Regions from separate parts of the Homo sapiens genome. Here region 1 is linked to region 2. The links are contacts of gene promoters, found by promoter capture Hi-C in human tissues and cell types (Jung and others, 2019). All regions are on one chromosome and are shown on one strand. Each heading gives the region's core, a stretch centred on a gene start or on the middle of the fragment in contact. The rest is flanking DNA. Distances are from core to core; before and after follow the strand shown. Region 1 holds the start of UPF1 (UPF1 RNA helicase and ATPase). Region 2 holds the start of IFI30 (IFI30 lysosomal thiol reductase).

The links. The method cuts DNA at HindIII sites, captures the fragments that hold promoters and counts their contacts. A contact is called where the count stands out against the background at its distance.
Region 1: a contact is called between the fragment with the promoter of UPF1 here and the fragment with the promoter of IFI30 in region 2, in 3 of the 25 tissues and cell types used here (adrenal gland, bladder and thymus).

What each region holds. Positions count from the first base shown.
Region 1 is chr19:18,828,211-18,834,440 of GRCh38, forward strand. It overlaps UPF1 (UPF1 RNA helicase and ATPase), which reads left to right and starts at 3,749. Exons shown (of 24, transcript NM_002911.4): 1 at 3,749-4,230. The coding sequence starts at 4,000. RefSeq lists silencers at 3,553-3,812, 3,933-4,032, 4,183-4,272, 4,283-4,362 and an enhancer at 5,944-6,230. The HindIII fragment of the contact is 23,837 bases long and covers 1-6,230 here.
Region 2 is chr19:18,170,272-18,176,469 of GRCh38, forward strand. IFI30 (IFI30 lysosomal thiol reductase) reads left to right here and starts at 3,542. Exons shown (of 7, transcript NM_006332.5): 1 at 3,542-3,702; 2 at 4,769-4,951; 3 at 5,040-5,114; 4 at 5,334-5,426. The coding sequence starts at 3,571. PIK3R2 (phosphoinositide-3-kinase regulatory subunit 2) reads left to right here. Exons shown (of 16, transcript NM_005027.4): 16 at 1-261. RefSeq lists enhancers at 640-859, 3,907-3,976, 4,104-4,769 and a silencer at 3,287-3,596. The HindIII fragment of the contact is 16,563 bases long and covers 1-6,198 here.

The DNA.
Region 1 (6,230 bases), core at 2,499-4,998, 660 kb after region 2:
TTTTAAAAACTCTGATAGGTGTTACTAAATTGATCTGAAATTTGTCTACAAATTCCACTGGATGTGTTCCAAAGAGAGCTTTGCATGATATTAAAATTATCTGTTGGTCTGTCAGTATTCCCCCTTAAACTGTGCCTTCTTGGAGAGGGAGACCTACTTTTATTCATTGTTTATATTCCTACAGTTTAGTGCATGCTAGGAGCCCCCCTGAAATGTTATTTTTATTTTCTGTAGAGATGGGGGTTTTGCTGTTTCCTAGGCTGGTCTTGTACTCCTGACCTCAAGTAATCGTCCCACCTCAATCTTCCAAAGAGCTGTGATTATAGGTATGAGCCACTATGTCTTGTCCCTGAAAAAGAGTGAAGAAGGCTGTGGCTCACACCTGTAATCCTAGCACTTTGGGAGGCAGAGGCAGGTGGATCACCCGAGGTCAGGAGTTCGAGACCAGCCTGGCCAACATGGTGAAACCCCATTTCTCCTAAAAATACAAAAAAATTAGCCGGGCATGGTGGCAGGTGCCTGTAATCCCAGCTACTTGGGAGGCTGAGACAGGAAAATTGCTTGAACCCAGGAGGTGGAGGTTGCAGTGAGCCAAGATTGTGCCATTGTACTCCAGCCTGGGCGACTGAGTGTAACTCCGTCTCAGGGAAAAAAAAAAAAATGTGAAGAAGGAGAACAGAACCTCTGTCCCTGTGATGATAAACAGGCAAATTGGAAATAAGGAACCACGGCAAACTGGGAACTTTTAGTTCAGCTGTGCAAGCTAGGAGCTCTTTCAGCTGACTTATTTAAAGAGCAGCAGAATCTTGGGACAGAAAGGGAAATGAGGGTGTTTTCCAAGATACTTTACCAGAGAGGAAGCGAACGCCTGGGGTTAGGAAATTAAGGCCCATAAACCAGTAGCTTACCTTGGATTTAAAGTGTCAGAAAACTTTTTATTGAGCACCTACTGTATGAGGCATCATTCTCTCCGTGGGGAAGATCATAATGAACAAGGCCAACACCCTGTCCTTATGGAACTATGCATTAAGAGAGTGACTGGTAGCTCATTTATTCCTCTCATATATATATATATATATATATACACACAGAGAGAGAGAGATAGAGTGTATATATATATACACACACACACTCCCTATCTATATATAATAGAGTGACTAGTAGCTCATTTATTCTTATATATACAGTGTGTATATATATGTATATACACGCACTGTCTATCTCTGTCTCTATATATAATAGAGTGACTAGTAGCTCACTTATTCTTATATATACAGTGTGTATATATATGTATATACGCGCACTCTCTCTATATATATAATAAAGTGACTAGTAGCTCATTTATTCCTCTCATATATACAGTGAGATATATAATATACATCATATATATATATACATATATATATATGTATATATATATATATATATATATATATATATATATATATATATACACTTTTTTTTTGAGACGGAGTCTCGCTCTGTCACCCAGGCTGGAGTGCAGTGGTGCAATGTTGGCTCACTGCAGCCTCCGCCTCCTGGGTTCAAGCAGTTCTCCTGCCTCAGCCTCCCAAGTAGCTAGGATTACAGGCACGCACCATACCCGGCTAATTTTTGTATTTTTAGTAGAGACGGGGTTTCACCACGTTGGCCAGGCTGGTCTCGAACTCCTGACCTTGGGTGATCCACCTGCCTCTGCCTCCCAAAGTGCTGGGATTACAGGTGTGAGCCACAGCCTTCTTCACTCTTTTTCAGGGACAAGACATAGTGGCTCATACCTATAATCACAGCTCTTTGGAAGATTGAGGTGGGACGATTACTTGAGGTCAGGAGTACAAGACCAGCCTAGGAAACAGCAAAACCCCCATCTCTACAAAAAATAAAAAATAAAAATAACATTTCGGGGGGGGCTCCTAGCATGCACTAAACTGTAGGAATATAAACAATGAATAAAAGTAGGTCTCCCTCTCCAAGAAGGCACAGTTTAAGGGGGAATACTGACAGACCAACAGATAATTTTAATATCATGCAAAGCTCTCTTTGGAACACATCCAGTGGAATTTGTAGACAAATTTCAGATCAATTTAGTAACACCTATCAGAGTTTTTAAAATTTATTTTTATACAAGGTCTTGCTCTTTTGGCCTCCGAAAGTGCTGGGATTACAGGCGTGACACACCGCACCGGGCTCCATATATATCAGCAGCAACCATATATCACATGAGAGTATGAGAGGAATAAATGAGCTACTAGTCACTCTATTTATATTAACATAAATAAATATATATTAATATACACACACACACATAGGATCTCTGTCACCCAGGCTGGAGTGCAGTGGCACAATCATAGCTCACCGCAGCCTCAAACTCCTGAGCTCAAGTGATTCTCTTGCCTCTACCTCCTAAAGTGCTGGGATTTCAGGAAAGAGCCACCTTGCCCAGGCTTCCTATGCCACCTTAATGGCAACAGAAACCCTAGGCTCAGAGAGGTTAAGTCACTTGTATAATTTCACACAGCTGGTAAGTGGTCAGGTCTAGAGTCCACCACAGACCATGTGCTTCCAGTTGTTTTGCTGTATACGTCCACTAAATAATAATCATAGCAAAAATAGTAATGGTATAATAACAGTGGCAGAGGCATCAGGAACAGCAGCAACCATCATTTCCAAGTGCCAGGCCCAGTACGTAAGACTATCCCCATTCATTTATTTTTACTTATTTTTGAGACAGGGTCTCGCTCTGTCACCCAGGCTGGAGTGCAGTGGTGCAATCTCGGCTTACTGCAGCCTCAACTTCCCAGGGTCAAGCGATCCTCCCACCTCAGCCTCCCTAGTAGCTGGGACTACAGGTGCGAACCACCACGCTTAGCTAATTTTTTTTTTTTTTTTTGAGACAGAGTCTCACTCTGTTGCCCAGGCTGGTGTGCAGTGGCACAATCTTGGCTCACTGCAACCTCCGCCTCCTGGGTTCAAGCGATTCTCCTGCCTCAGCCTCCTGAGTAGCTGGGACTACAGGCTCGTGCCACCACGCCTGGCTAATTTTTTGTATTTTTAGTGGAGACGGGGTTTCACCATGTTAGCCAGGATGGTCTCGATCTCCTGACGTCATGATCCACCCGCCTCGGCCTCCCAAAGTGCTGGGATTACAGGCGTGAGCCACCGCGCTCGGCCTAATTTTTATATTTTTTGTAGAGATGGAGTCTCACTCTGTCTCCCAGGCTGGTCTCGAACTCCTGAGTTCAAGCAGTTCTCCCGCCTCAGCCTCTGAGTGTTGGGATTACAGGTGTGACCACCGCGCCGAGCCCCACTCCCTTTTTAAACCAATGCACAGGGAGCATCTACTATGTGCGAGGCACCCTCCATTTTACAGATGGGGAAACTGAGTTCCAAGCAGCTTTTGCCAGGAGTGGGAGCGCACCGTCCCTGCCCAGTCTCTCCAGTTGGGCGTTCCGAGACCACCTATGTAGGGTATTCGGCTAGCGCTCAATTAAACCGAAACACCGTCGCAGCGACCACAGGTGCAGACCACCAAGTCCACACCGCCAGCCGCCCGGGCGTCCCCAATTAGCAGTTGGGGCGGGACCAAGTCCTCGAGCTGCCGCCGCAGCGGCGGTTGAAAGCCCCACCCCCTGCGCGTGCGCGGTGCGCGTCCCGTCTTCCTGCTGGGCACCAGGCGCCCGCGAAGAGCGCGCGCGCTTCCGCCGGCGTCGGGCTCGCGCACGCGCACGGCGACGGCGGCGGTGGCGGCAGTTCCTGCTCTAGGCTGCGAGCGGCTGGCGGCTTCGAGGGGAGCTGAGGCGCGGAGGGGCTCGGCGGCAGCGGCGGCGGCTCGGCACTGTTACCTCTCGGTCCGGCTGGCGCCGGGGCGCGCGGTTTGGTCCTTTCCGGGCGCGCGGGGGCGACAGCGGCAGCGACCCGAGGCCTGCGGCCTAGGCCTCAGCGCGGCGGCGGGCTCGAGTGCAGCGCGGAACCGGCCCGAGGGCCCTACCCGGAGGCACCATGAGCGTGGAGGCGTACGGGCCCAGCTCGCAGACTCTCACTTTCCTGGACACGGAGGAGGCCGAGCTGCTTGGCGCCGACACACAGGGCTCCGAGTTCGAGTTCACCGACTTTACTCTTCCTAGCCAGACGCAGACGCCCCCCGGCGGCCCCGGCGGCCCGGGCGGTGGCGGCGCGGGAGGCCCGGGCGGCGCGGGCGCGGGCGCTGCGGCGGGACAGCTCGACGCGCAGGTGAGCGGCACATGGCGGTGCCGGAAGCCCGGGCCCGGCCTCGGCGCCTGAGACCTGCCCCGAACTCGCCTCGGGCCCGGCCTGTGTTTGGCCGGAGTCCCCCATCGCGGCCGGGCCTGGGGCGATCTGCCCCGGGTCCCCTACTCTGGCTCGGCCTGAGCTTACCTGCCCCAGGTCCTGCAATCTGCCCGGGCCTGGCCTGATCTGCCCCGGGTCCCCCGCTCCGGCCGCGACCTGGCTGAGTTCCTTCGGCCCCCAACTCCTGGGCCGGGCAGACTTGCCTCGAGTCCTCCACTTCGTTCGGGACCGAGCTAACCTGACCCTGTTCCTTTACGCCAGCTGGGTTTGCTCCCCCTCCTGGGCCCGGGCTGACCTGCCTTGTGTCCCACAATCAGTCTGGCCTGGAGTAACCTGCCCCCTGACTTATCTGAGTTCTTCCATTCCATCCGGGCTAGGGTGACCTGCCCTGGTCCCTCTTTCGCAGGTCTCGGTATTCTGCCTCGAGTTCTCCTACGACCTGGGCCGGGTCTTGCTCAGGCCGGAGCTTGAGTGACTTCCCTCAGTCCCTTTCCGGGAGTATCCAGGGTGACCTGCCCTAATCCTGTCTCTGGCCTGGTCCGGGGGTCCTGCCCGGTCTCCCCATTGGTGGGTCTGGCCGCCTGTCCCACCTCCCATCTGTGGTCGCAGCCATCTGGGCACCCCACCTTTCACAGTCACGGAGCGTAGGTTCGACTTTCCCCATGCATAGGGGCGCTGGCCAGCGGAAGGTTGAGGCAGAGAAGAATTTTTGCCTCCCATGGAGGAGCACATATTGGCTGGCTATTAAGATCATTCAGGAAGCAGGTTGTATTTTGTTTTTTCTTGCATCGCCTGTTGCTGAAACCGACCTGTTACATAACTTCACAACTCTTGCCTTGGAAAAGTTGGGTTTGAGTTTTGTTCTTCCAATAAGACAGCAATAATGGCTTTACATAAACGAGTCTGCCACGTTGGAAACTTATTTTTAATGATGTGGATGTTTAGAGAAGGTTACTTAGGTATTTTAAATGGGGGCTTGGGTTGGGAGAAGTATCGGGCATGCATTTCCTGGTCCTGGGCGCTGCTTGCCTGGGGTGGGAGAGGGGCTGGGGGGGTGGCGCGTGTTGCACCGGGGTCCTGGGGAATGTCCTCATCACCCTCTGGATTTCAGGTTGCTTTCACCTTAGGCTTGCTTTGTGCCTGACCTCTCGCTCAGGTTTGTTTTCCTGAATGCTCCGACAGGAAGAAGCTCCGAGGCTTACCTTGGCACAGGTGTCCCTTGGCATATGCTGGTGTTTCAGAACTGGGGGAACCACTCCTTGCTCATCCAGAGTGAGCTCAGACCCTGTCCTTGCATGGGGGGCTTACGTGGTAGTCGATTGAGTCACTCTCGTGGGTAGACCACCCACTTGGGCTTTCTTTTAGCCCCTAATGGAAGCAAAAAACATTTGACTCATTCTAACCCCATATTCCTTAAAATAGAAGGTGGGGTGTGAGGAGAACAGGTGTGCACGTATGGGTGTTTTTTTCAGTTTTGTTTACATTTTGCGAAGGGAGGGAGGGAGAGAGGAGAGTTCTCCTGAAGAAGGGAGTCTGAGCTGCGGAGGCCCCACCTCCTTGTAGTTTTCATGCCCTGTAGACCTTTCTGCTTCCGCAGCTGTGAAATGGGGGTGGCAGTTAGATTTTTATTCCTTTTAAACATAAAGGAAACCTAGATCCATGTGTGAGTCGACTGTATACGCTGTCTGTAATCTGACGTCCAGCCTGTCGGGGAGACTCGGTAAAGATCTCTGTGGAGCAGTGAGCCATGAGCGTGACAGCGCGGATCGGGGGGTTGGCTGGGTGTGAAAGGTAATCATTTTCTTGTGAATCCTTTTAACTGTAGCGAGCATAAAACAGCAAACCTGGGGCAGCCTTTAGTTCTGCTTTTGTTTCTGGCATTCCGTTTGGGATTAATTGTGGGGCATGTCCTTCTCTTTCAG
Region 2 (6,198 bases), core at 2,292-4,791:
CGTACTGGTGCCGCCGCAGTGGCCAAGTTGCGACACTGCCCACGGCCCCTCCCTCTGATGCAGATTCAGGGCTTCTCTTCGATCATGTTGGGTTTTGATTCTGTTTTTCCTTGACTGCAAAACCCTCTTTCCTCTCCTCTTTTGGGACAAGAGCCCTGGTTTTCTACGCTGCCCTTGGCCACCACACTGCCTGCCCCACGAGCTGGGAGGCAGGTTTTGTACGGTACGTTGTTATTGATATGATATAAAACATCAAACGTCGTGGGTGATTCTGTTGTCAGTGACTGGGCTTCAGTACCACCTCTGCGTGTCGGGGACCCTGGTGTCTACGGGGGTCACAGCAGGTCGGACCCGTGGGTTTAACTCCAAGCCCCTCTGAGACCCGACAACCCCTCCCTCCCCCAGTTTAGCTGCTCAAGCCTGGAGAGGTTGAGGCAGTGCCCAAGGTCATACAGGAGAGAGATTCGAATCCTGAGCTCCCGACTGCTCAGGGGACCCCAGACCCCATCCAGCCCCTCAAGTGCTTCCAAGCTGCTTCCCCCGCCCACCGCCCCCAAATTTGAATCCTGTCGCAACCATCAGCTGTGTCCTTGGGAAAGTTGTATCCCCTCCCTGATCCACAGCTTCCTCATTCATTGCCAAGTGGCGTCAAAAGTCAAAACCCTCCCATGCCACAGGGAGGAGTCTCCCGTGTCTTTGATGTTCTCAAGTCGTCGGCACCTCCAGCCAGCATTGGAGGCTCTTCTCTGACCTCTCCTCACCCACTCCCATGCACAGCCCGCCGGGTCCCAGGAGACGCTGAGCAAAAGCCCTGTGGGGTTTTTTGTGTTTCTTTTTAAAGAGTCAAGGTCTCTCACTCTGTCACCCAGGCTGGAGTGCAGTTGTGCGAACACAGCTCGCGGCTCACAGCCTCAAGCTCCTGGTTCCCAGCCTCAAGCAGTCCTCTCATCTCAGCCTTTAGAGTCACTGGATTACGGGTGTGTGTCACCATGTCCAGCTAATTATTTTTAAATTTTTTTAGAAACAAGATCTTGCCGAGTGCAGTGGCTCACACCTGTAATTCCAGCACTTGGGGAAGCCAAGGCAGGCAGATCACTTGAGGTCAGGAGTTTGAGACCAGCCTGGCCAACATGGTAAAACCTGGTCTCCACTAAAAATACAAAAAAAAATTAGCCAGACATGGTGGCGCATGCCTGTAATCCCAGCTACTTGGGAGGCTGAGATAGGAAGATCAGATGAACCTGGGAGGTCAACGCTGCACCAAGCCAAGATCGTGCCACTGTTCTCCAGCCTGGGTGACAGAGTGAGACTCTGTCTCAAGAAAAAAAAAAAAAAAAAGGGTCTTGCCCTTTTCCAGGTGGGTCTCAAACTCCTGGCCTCTAGTGATCCTCCCACCTCAGCCTCCCTGAGTCGCGTAAGCCACCACGCGTGGCCTCATGGCGTCTTTGACTTGGACTCCTGTTTACCACCCTCCCCATCACACCCAGAATCCACACCCCCACTGCGACGTCATTGTCCCTTCAGCCCTCCCCAACCCTGGGGCCTCACTGTCCTTGTCTGTTTTGTACAGCCACCTCTCAAGGCCCAACAAGGCTGAACCTGGGGCAAGTGCAGAAAGAAACCTCCACTCTGACCCAGTCTACTGCTGGGACCTTGGGACAGGACCTGCCTCCCTTAGCCTCAGAGCCCCCTAGCCTTGCCAGGCACTGTCCCTGCCATGTGTCCTGTCTGGAGATAACCCATAAATAACTCCAGCCCAGATTGTGCCTCTCACTGCATAGGTGCTCACAGGAGAAAGGTTGCCATCTTTATGATCCCAGCTATGCTGAGCTGGGGGTGGAAGAGAATATCCCGTGTGGTCTCTAAAAACACTCAACCACTGGCTGTGTGTCCTTGGCAAAATAGCCTTCCCTCTCTGATCAGCCATTTATTTGTTACCAGCTGGAGTCAGTAGCACCTACCCCCAGCCCCAACTGGATGCTTCTGAGGGTTCAATGATAAAATGGGTTGTAGGCCCACTCTATGCCTGGCACCAAGCCAGAGAGCAATACATTGTAGGGTTACATTTATGATTTCTTCCAATAGGGCTGGTGCCTGGTAACTACTGGAAAAATTGTAGCAATTATATTTATGGTTATTTCTTCAATCCCACCCGGCATAGGGTAAGCACCAAAGTTGGGGTGGTGAGTCTTGGGGAGCCTTTGCCAACGGTTTGGTCGTCTGAGGGATGGGCTCGGGGACCATCCAGCCACTGGGACTTCAGAGAAGCTCCGGCTCCCAAACCAGCTACTGTGTGTGTGGCCAGGGTCTTCCCCACAACTAGAGGGGGGCACAGCTGGGGACTCAGGTATATCTTCCAGCTGGGTGTGGGACATTTTCTTCCCTAGGATCCGATGTGTCTTGCCCTGAATGTAAGGCCTGGCAGGGTTGGAATGTCTCAGTTATTCCCCCAACACTCCAGCCTCCATCTGGGCCTTTTTTCCAGGCTATTCTCTCTGCCTTCACTGTTGGGGCCACTGTCCTGTGTAGGCACCAAGGCCTGACCATGCCATCCAGAAGCCCCAGCCTGGGACAACTCTCCCCCACCTGCCTCTGAGCCCTCCATGGTGACTCTTGTTCCCCAAACCTTATCCTTCTCCCCATTACACAGAAGGGAAAGCTGAGGCTCTGTCACTCAAATCCAAAGCCAGGTGGACTCCAAGCCACCCCACCCCTATCCCAGACAGCACAGGCTGCCTCTCTCCCCCATGGGCGTCCCTTGAAGGCCAGGTTGCCCCCCACCCCCCACAAGCCTTGAACGATGAAAAGAAGGAAGGCCAGTTCTCTTCACCCCAAGCCAGAAGTGGGGCTGGGTGGGTACCCTAGAGAAATGACACGCCACTCCCTGCGCCAGCTTCTGCTTTCCGGCGTGGCTGTGGTCAAGCCTGAGTCAGTCCCACGGGACCACGGTGAGGGGTCTGGAGCGTCGGGGTCAGGAGTTTGAGGGGGGAAGGGTTGAGGGGCAGGATGTGGGGGTTGGGTGTGAGGGAGGTCACGGGCGAGACTGGAGGGAGGAGACCTGGCCACACAGGCCTTGCCCACTCTCGGGGGCCTGAATATTTCAGTTACTCCCCCAAAACCCCGGCCTCCATCCCATCCCCAGCCTCCATCCGACGTCACCCCTGTTAGGTCACAGGCCCACTCTGAGAGTGGGTCTCGGGCCTCAAGTCCCCTAGCCGCCCCTAGAAGGTCTAGGGGTGCGTGGAGACACCACCATTCCTCTCAGCCTGTGTCTGTCTCAAAGGCCCCACCTCACCTCCCCTAAAGGTAGTCTTGCGCCAGGGCTCACGTGCCTGGGCAGGGCTGATTGCCAAGGGGCCCAATGGCCTCGTGACTGGGGACCCAGCACCTGGCAGGGGTGGGGGTGGGACACTCAGAGGAAGGAGTGGAGGAGGGAGAGACGCTGGCCCGGGACCCGAGGGGCGTGGGCATCGGGAGGCGGGCCCGGGTTAGGGGCGGGACCGCCGCCTGGTTAAAGGCGCTTATTTCCCAGGCAGCCGCTGCAGTCGCCACACCTTTGCCCCTGCTGCGATGACCCTGTCGCCACTTCTGCTGTTCCTGCCACCGCTGCTGCTGCTGCTGGACGTCCCCACGGCGGCGGTGCAGGCGTCCCCTCTGCAAGCGTTAGACTTCTTTGGGAATGGGCCACCAGTTAACTACAAGGTAGGGACGGCGACAGGGCGGGCAGGCTGGAGGGAACAGGCGCCCTGTCGGGGCACGCGGCTCCTTCTTTCTCCCCAGACTTCACAGGGGAAGACCAGGGCCCCGAGGGGACGCTGTCCCTGCCGGGTTCCTGGAAAAACCCTGTTCAGTTCCCGGCGCTGCGGCCACACTCCCTCCGTGCCGTTTCGCTTTCGCATCCCGCATCTGAGAGGCGCAGCTGCCTCCACCCGCCTAGTCCCGCCCAAGGGTTCAATGAGCGCCTACTGTGTACTTTTGGGGCAGGAGCTGGGGTCTCCTTTTGTGGCCCAGGGCACAAGTTCAGCAGCTGGCCAAGGGCCGCCGGCATGCATTCTTGCTGCTACCCTTGATGCATTCATTCCAGCCAGGGCAGGGCTCGCGTGTCTTTGGGACCTATTAGGCAGATGCCCTAGAGGCTGAGCGACTTGCTCACCGCTCCAGCGACATGGGCCACCCGCCACCCCTCAGCTGAAGCCGGAAGTCAGCACCTATTAGGTGCCGCCTCTATTCAGTCGGACTTGGAAAGGGTTCACGTGGATCCCTTGCTCAGCTCAGAGGCAAGGTCTCCAGGTGAAGTGACAAGAAATGAGCATGGGCCAAGGCCGGAGGCGGTGGCTCATGCCTGTAATCCCAACACTTTGGAAGTCTGAGGCAGGCAGATCACGAGGTCAGGAGTTCGAGACCATTCTGGCCTACATGGAGAAACCCTGTCTCTACTAAAAATACAAAAATTAGCTGGGTGTGGTGGCATGTGCCTATAATCCCAGCTACTCAGGAGGCTGAGGCAGGACAATTGCTTGAACCAGGGAGTCGGGTGTTGCAGTGAGCCGAGATCGTGCCGCAGCACACCAGCCTAGCGACAGTGAGACTCCATCTCAAAAAAAAAAAAAAAAGTCTCAAAGTCAAGATTCCACCTGGCAAGTTCTGGAAGGCGTGCAAGATGAATTGCGTATCACAGCCCCCTTTCTACAAGACTACCAAGTGGGGTTGAGAGAAGTGGGGAACTGCCCAGGGCTACACCTGCCTCCCACGCCTTCCTAATCCACAGACAGGCAATCTATACCTGCGGGGGCCCCTGAAGAAGTCCAATGCACCGCTTGTCAATGTGACCCTCTACTATGAAGCACTGTGCGGTGGCTGCCGAGCCTTCCTGATCCGGGAGCTCTTCCCAACATGGCTGTTGGTCATGGAGATCCTCAATGTCACGCTGGTGCCCTACGGAAACGCACAGGTGTGTGGGCGCTGGGGAAACTGAGGCACGTGGGCAGGGGAGCAGGGGACCCAGCCTACCAGCAGGCTCTCACCCTGCTGCCTTGCAGGAACAAAATGTCAGTGGCAGGTGGGAGTTCAAGTGCCAGCATGGAGAAGAGGAGTGCAAATTCAACAAGGTGGAGGTGAGCGGCCCCAGGGCCCCACACTGGGGTGGGGGAAAACTGTCCCACGTACAGGAGGCAAATACGAGGATGCCAGCTCTGTCTTCTGCCTCGTGTGCTCCCATTTAATCACATCTTTATTCCCTATCTCCTGGGTGGGTACTGGTGATTATTACGAGAGGGTGTCAGGGTACCCTAGGCCCTCTTCATGCCCTCTCCTGCCCCCTCTCCAAACCCCAGGCCTGCGTGTTGGATGAACTTGACATGGAGCTAGCCTTCCTGACCATTGTCTGCATGGAAGAGTTTGAGGACATGGAGAGAAGTCTGCCACTAGTGAGTGACGCCCCTCACTCCACCCAAGGAGGGGGACATGGGTGGTAACCTTCCCTGCATCCAGGCAGACCCAAATTCAAGTCCTAGCCCTGACCACTGCTGTCTGTGCAGCCCAGGAAAACAACTACCCTTCTTTATTTTATTTATTTTTTTATTTTTTCTTGAGACAGAGTCTCGCTCTGTCGCCCAGGCTGGAATGCAGTGGCGCAATCCCAGCTCACTGCAACCTCCACCTCCAGGGTTCAAGTGATTCTCCAGCCTCAGCCTCCTGAGTAGCTGGGATTACAGTTGTGTGCCACCATGCCCAGCTAATTTTTGTGTTTTTAGTAGAGACAGGGTTTCACCATGTTGGTCAGGCTTGTCTTGAACTCCTGACCTTGTGATCCGCCTGCCTTGGCCTCCCAAAGTGCTGGGATTACAGGCGTGAGCCACCGCACCCAGCCCTTTTTTTTTTTTTTTTTTTTTTTTTTTTTTTGAGACAGGGTTTTGCTCTGTCGCCCAGGCTGGAGTGCAGTGGTGCAATCTTGGCTGACTGCAACCACTGTCTCCTCAGTTTAAGTGATCCTCCTGCCTCAGCTTCCCCAGTAGCTGGGACTACAGGTGTGCACCACCATGCCCGGCTAATTTTTGTATTTTTAGTAGAGACAGTGTTCACCATGTTGGCCAGGCTGGTCTCAAACTCCTGACCTCAAGTTATCCGCCTGTCCCAGCCTCCCAAAGGATTACAGGTGTAAGCCACCACGCCCGGCCCCAGCCTCCCCTCTTGAAGCCT